Regions from separate parts of the Homo sapiens genome. Here region 2 is linked to region 1. Evidence: promoter capture Hi-C in human tissues and cell types (Jung and others, 2019). All regions are on one chromosome and are shown on one strand. Each heading gives the region's core, a stretch centred on a gene start or on the middle of the fragment in contact. The rest is flanking DNA. Distances are from core to core; before and after follow the strand shown.

What was found. Contacts are between HindIII fragments. The study calls those that stand out against the background at their distance.
Region 2: a contact is called between a fragment that was not itself captured here and the fragment with the promoter of DDX4 in region 1, in 1 of the 25 tissues and cell types used here (pancreas).

What each region holds. Positions count from the first base shown.
Region 1 is chr5:55,736,404-55,739,743 of GRCh38, reverse strand. DDX4 (DEAD-box helicase 4) reads right to left here and starts at 1,683. Exons shown (of 22, transcript NM_024415.3): 1 at 1,643-1,683; 2 at 712-794. The coding sequence starts at 780. The HindIII fragment of the contact is 12,969 bases long and covers 1-3,340 here.
Region 2 is chr5:55,786,211-55,789,550 of GRCh38, reverse strand. It overlaps DDX4 (DEAD-box helicase 4), which reads right to left. Exons shown (of 22, transcript NM_024415.3): 14 at 2,881-3,033; 15 at 1,551-1,705. Among named protein-coding and RNA genes, the nearest start is that of DDX4, 50 kb to the right of the region's middle. The HindIII fragment of the contact is 6,379 bases long and covers 1-3,340 here.

The sequences.
Region 1 (3,340 bases), core at 434-2,933:
TTCCACTAAGGCAAAACTTGAAATCAGAAAGTGTCAGAACTGACATACACTCAAACTGGAAATTCTGAAGGGGAACAAAAAAATCAACTTGTAGAGACACCATATAGTAAGTAACACATGCAAAAATAATCTATTATCTTTTAAAGTACCTTCTATTCATCTTTTTAAAGCCAATTTCCAAGTCAGAACTGAAGCCCAAAAAACTTACCCCACTGTCCCCTAAATTACAATGTAACTCCCCAAATGCCATTAAGAAAAAAGATCTGAAGATTCATACAAACTGATGTTACCAACTCAATCAGCCTAGTATCATTTATCCTGAGAACCCTCCTTGCACAAAATCAATTTTCAGAATTTAAAATATCTCCCAAAACGTAATTATTGTTTTCAATTTTCCATACAAGCGTCTTTCACTGATATCAACCACATTTGCCCAAGTTTGCTTTCACCTGAGGAAGTCCTAAATCATTGAGATTTAAATTAGGTCATTAATATTTTTACATCTATTTTAGCTTTTAATTATCAAATTGCCTCAAGCTATTGTATCCTATACGAGGCTTAGGTTGTCTCTTATTCCCCATATAATAGTTAATAACAATCACATGGAGATAAACACTGACACAGACTGTATAATTTAGAACTCTCACCACAGTGATTTTCAACTTTGATAAAATCCGTAGCATTTAATAACTAAACTTTAAATGTTATTACCTTCTCAAATATGGGAACATAGGAAGACATATGAGGGTTGATTTCTGCTTCCCAATCTTCATCTCCCATGGTGGCTTCAAGTTCTATTCATAAAAAAAAAAAAATGCACATTTGGACTCAATTAGATCAGAATCATAACTTTAAAAGCATAAACTCATTGTTTCACATACATCTTGAAACTACCCAACTAGGTGCTGATACCCCAAAAGTTTTTTCCAAAGAAGGAATTAGGTCTCTTCTTATCTAAAGGTGGCATTTATCTCCATCCTTTCTTAGCTTTAGAAACTAGTTGAACCTCTTACCTAGTCATTCTAGCAATCGCCATGTCCCCAGCAAGACTTAGGCTTTTCCCAAACATCTGTTCATAGACTTTATCTCCTCCCTCAAAGGGTCCCCAAACGACTTACTGAATATTAAGGGAGAGGCAACTTTTTTCAGAAACTACTTAAGATTTCTCCCTTCGCATGATTAACATCCAAGGTGGATAGGATGTTTGCTTTGGGGTGTTTGTGGCGTGCGTGGGGGCGGGGACAGGGGTACGGGAGTCGACTGGGTAGGGGGGCGGCGACTCGGTGAAGAGGGAGGCCTTGGATTTTAGTGGGGAAGGGAAGAAGGGTATGGTTGCCCAAATCCTGCCGACAAAGGACAACCAGCTTCATCAAGAAGGATTTGTACACAAATGGTACTCGGACCATGTCTGTTCAGAGAAAACGCAGTGAAGAAGCCAGGAATAAGGCCCCTTCGCCTCCTCTGCAGGCCTCAAGCCCAGACTTTGGGCACCCGTGGGACTCTGAGACCCCGAGGCAGAAAGGCTTCGAAGGACGGCTTCAAAACTCCTCCTACTCCATCCACACTTTGGCCAAAGGTCGGTTACTGGGGAGCCCGTACGGCCGAGTTCAGGCCAGTTCCCGTAGAAAAGCGGCCCACTCACCTCTCCGCGGCTTGCTCTCCCAAGCCCTCGCAGGCGCCCACGCGACTTAAACGGCTGCACGTGCAAGACGCCCACTGCGTCAGGTGCGTGGCTCCAACAACAAATGGCGTCTGTTGACGATTGGCTGGTGACTAGCGCCACCAGCCAATCAGCGCTCAGACGACCAGTGGCGTCCCGCCTCCACTTCTAGCCTGCGGATTCCCTAAACGCTAGCGTTCGGGCCCCTATGGCGACGCTCTGGCCTCATAGCCAAGTGGCCTGTTGGGCCTGTGGGTACAAGGCTGGCTGAGGGCCTACTTGTGTCCACGTTCTCTCGTGGGATCCTTATTCTGGAGACGCTCTGGATTTTCCTTGTGCAAGCTTCGCAAGCTAAATATGTCCACCTGCCTTTTTCTAACAAAAAATAATAATAAAAGGGGAAAGGGATAATGTCCTCCCTACTTGGCCTCTTTAGTGCTCTCTCCCCTTTTACCCATCACAGTCCATGGGTTGGCCCCTCGGGTTCTGCATTTCAGAGACTCGCTCCACATCCGGGGATTCCAGGTGCCTCAAAGTGCAGCTGAGGCTCATGGAGGAGGTGCATTCCCTTTTCCTCCCAGTAAGGGGGGCAGGGATGAGACTCCGTCCAGCTGGGACCCCAGGAAATCGTAAAGAAAGTTAGACTCGGCTGGGCATGGTGACTCACGCCTGTAATCCCAGCACTTTGGGAGGCCGAGGCGGGCGGATCACATGAGGCTAGGAGTTCGAGACCAGCCTAGCCAACATGGTGAAACCCCGTCTCTACTAAAATTAAAAAAATTAGCCGGGTATGGTGGCGGCTGCCTGTAGTCCCAGCTACTCAGGAGGCTGAGGCAAGAGAACCGCTTGAACCCGGGAGGCAGAGGTTGCAATGAACCGAGATCATGCCATTGATCTCTACCTGGGCGACAGAGTGAGACAGAGGAAAAAAAAAAAAAAAAAAAAGCCTGTAAGATTTCGGGGGTCCACCACTTTGGAAGGAAACAGGCTCTGATCCAGAAGGAGGGAGGAAATTGGTGCTGGCATAGGTCATTCATCAAGGCTTGGATTTGTGGCCCACCTGTTTATATTCCTACGGGCACTAGCCAAAGTGGCCAAGGGTTATTTTGATACTTCATGCTGTCTTCAATCAGATTTTCTTGTTCTGCCCCCACCCCCCACCCCAAAAGCAGGTAAAATCCCTCAGTATTTCCCCAGCCCTTCAAAACGCGTGACCATGGGCTGTTTTAAAAGTGTAGTTCTCAGAGGCCGGGCGCGGTGGCTTACGTCTGTCTGTAATCCCAGCACTTGGGGAGGCCGAAGCGGGCGGATCACGAGGTCAGGAGATGCAACCATCCTGGCTAACACGGCGAAACCCCGTCTCTACTAAAAATACAAAAAATTAGCCGGGCGTGGTGGCGGGCGCCTGTAGTCCCAGCTACTCCAGAGGTTGAGGCAGGAGAATGGCGTGAACCCGGGAGACGGAGCTTGCAGTGAGCCGAGATCGCGCGACTGCACTCCAGCCTGGGCCTCAGACCGAGACTCCGCCTCAAAAAAAAAAAAAAAAAAAAAAAGTGTAGTTCTCATTTTTGTTGTCGTTTCTGTCATTTTCCCTTCTCTGAATCTGAAGAAATTCCTATCTCATTCAGGAACATAAATAGCAACACAGTTTGATACTGGTACATAAAGGATAAAGCACTT
Region 2 (3,340 bases), core at 236-2,735, 50 kb before region 1:
GACTATTTCATAAAAGCTATTACAGCCTCCTCTTTGTTCTTACTGATCACTTAATCTAGGGGAAGCCAGTGCCATTTAATCATGCATCCCTATGGAGAGATCCAATGAAGCCCTCAGATGACTGCCTTGACATCTTGTCTGGTTGACAATAAAACCAGAATTGGTTGACATCTCGTTTACAATCTCATAAGAAACTCTTAACTCAGAAGGACCCAGCTAAGCCAAGCTGTTCCCCAATTCCTAAGCCCCCAAAATGGTGAGACAGTAAATGTTTATTGTTGAAAGCAACTATGTTTTAAGGGAGTTTGTTAGGCAGCGATAACTAAATGTTGGCAAAGGGTATACTGAAATTGGACTTCTGATAGACTGCAGGCACAAATATACATTAATTACAAGCTTTAAAATAAGTTCCTGCTCTTTAACATTAAAATTGATAAAACTCTATTCTAAGAAAATACTTAAAACAGAAAACTGTTGGTTTTTTTTATATATAAGTCAAGGTCTCACTGTCATCTAGGCTGGAATGCAGTGGCGCAATCACAGCTCACTGCAGCCTCGACCTCCCAGGCTCAGGTAATCTCTCAGGCTCCCAAGTAGCTGGGACTACAGGGGTGCACCACTGCACCTAGCTAGTTTTTGTTCTTTTTTGTAGAGATGGGTTTTCACCATGTTTTCCAGGCTGGTCTTGAACTCCTGGGCTCAAGCTATCTGCCCATCTTGGCCTCCCAAAGTGCTAGGATTACAGGTGTAAGACATCATATCTGGCCAAAACAGAAAAACTATGTAGCAAGATGTACATTGCAATTTTGTTTACAATAGCCCCAAGTTAGAAAGAACCTAAATACCTCAGAACAGAGAAATAAAATGTATACACATGGGCAATTTAAAAGTCATTAAAAATCAGTTCTTATTATGAAATAAGAATTTTCTGTGTTATAAAGTTTTATGTAAAAGAATAGGAAATTATTAGAATACCCTGAGTTCATTTTTAAATATACATTAAAAACTACCAAGAAATAATACCAGTATGTTCACTATTTTCTACTTCTAGTATTATCTGTTTTTTAAATTAAAATTTTACTTTTTTGGAGACAGGGTCTCGCTCTGAGTGTGGTGGTGCAATCACAGTTCACTGCAGCCTCAAACTCCTGGACTCAAACAATCCTTCTGCCTCAACCTCCTAAACTCCTAGGACAACAGGTGTGCATCACCACATGCTGGCTAGTTATTTTATTTTTTGTAGAGATGGGGTCTTGCCATGTTACCCTGGCTGGTCTCGAACTCCTGGCCTCAAGCAGTCTGCCTGCCTGGGCCTCACAAAGCACTGGGATTATAGTCATGAGCCACCAAGTCCAACCTATTAACCTAATTTTTAATAAGCATATTTCTTTTCAAAAATGAAAAGGATTCCATAAACAAGATAATAAAAAAATACTTTAAGTAATGCTAAAAATTACATGAGTGCATTATTACTGAGTTCTTCCAAAAGTGAGGGGAAAAAAATCTCTAAAGAAAAAACTATTTTGTGAGTAGCACTCTGATGTACTTACCCAAAAGAAAATTTTCTGGCTTCCAAATAAATCTGGTTGACCAATTCTCGAGTTGGTGCTACAATAATACACTCTGGTTCCTGCAACTCTTTAAAACGACTGGCAGTTATTCCATCATGCATCATATGAGCCAAAATTGGTAGGAGAAAAGCCGCCTAGAAGTTAAGTTGCTTAGTTTACAAACTTATAGCACAACACTTTTATCCCTATGGAAAGCTAATCCTCATGTCCTTATAGCCTTTAGACTCTACTTCCATCTTACTGGTAAATTTAAGATGAGAAATGAAAACAACTTTCATTTCAAGGTGTTCTTAACATTTATGTCTTTATGCTCTTATTATACAATATAAAATTTGGTAAAATTAATCTAACCTATCAAAGTTTTTCAGTGTATTTTCAAAAGCATACCCACGAATTCTAAACAGATCAACAACATTAGCATATTTATAGAGGAATATGATAGATGTAATCGCTGCAAATCATTACAGTGAACAATTACTCTAAGTTAGTCCTTTTGAGGTCATAAAATTATCATTCAGAATGGATGACAAAAGTGGCCCACAGAGTAAAAACTTAGAAATCATCATCTGTATTACTGAACACATTACCCTTATTGAAGTTACATCTGGCAACAGAAATTTTGTGCTACAGTTTTCTCATTTAAGCAAATAAGACACTTGCTAAAATCCACCTCCAAAACCACGTTTAACACTCTCATCAGCTGCTATACAATACCTGTTTTTCCCTACAATTCTACTATGAAGGCTGATTAAGACTAAAATGGTATGACCTCATGGACTCTATGATCATAGAAATAAGAGTCTCATCTTATGGAGTCGTTAATTAACACACAAATCTCCCAGATTAGTCCTAAAACCAACTGGTTTCATCAGACTTCTTTTATAATTAGCATAACCTGAGGTCACTGAATACTAAGGAATCATGCACAATGCATAACTGTTTCTCATTCTTTAATCTTTTGACTTCGAGTGTACCAGCTATAATACAGAAATTACTTTCTCCCTCTCTGTTTTATAAGCTCTGCTTTGACTTTCAGTCACTTTGTTTAAGATACTACCATGTTTCAGAAAGAGCTGCACACAGAAAAGATTAAACATCTATGGACAGCAACACCACCCCAGGAATAGTTCAGAATTCTTTCTTCCGAAGTACACAAATCCTAATAAAAATCAGAAGCAAAACCATCAATACTTATGACAGGTAACTGAAACCATCTACAAACCTTCTACTCAAAAGAAGAAACCAAGTTACTAAGGAAGAACCAAAGCTCAAAAAACCTAACAGTTTGGACATGTGGGGAAAGACTTACAGTCTTCCCAGACCCTGTTTGAGCGCAAGCCATCAAATCTCGTCCTGCAAGTATGATAGGAATACTGTATTTTTGCACAGGAGTAAGCTTAGTATAACCAGCTTTAGCAATGTTGTTATTCAGTGTCTGACAGAGATTAGCTTCTTCAAAAGTCTGAAAATTTAAAAAAAAGCAGTGATTACATTCTATATATCATATGCAGATCATTTATAAGCATATTTCATTCGAGCTACTTTCCAAGTTCTGTTAATTCTACTTTATATACTAAAGTGACTTTAGTAACATGCCTCCACTCAGAAGTAAATATTCAAAGCCTGTATATTATAATATGATTTGACAGAATCATGAAGTATTCTCCACAAATGGTGGCTTTAAAAACATTTTTCCTGCCCCCTTAAAACCTATGAGATATGAAGAATTCTGCTCAGTAATGGCTTGTTCTAAGTATAATTATCAATAG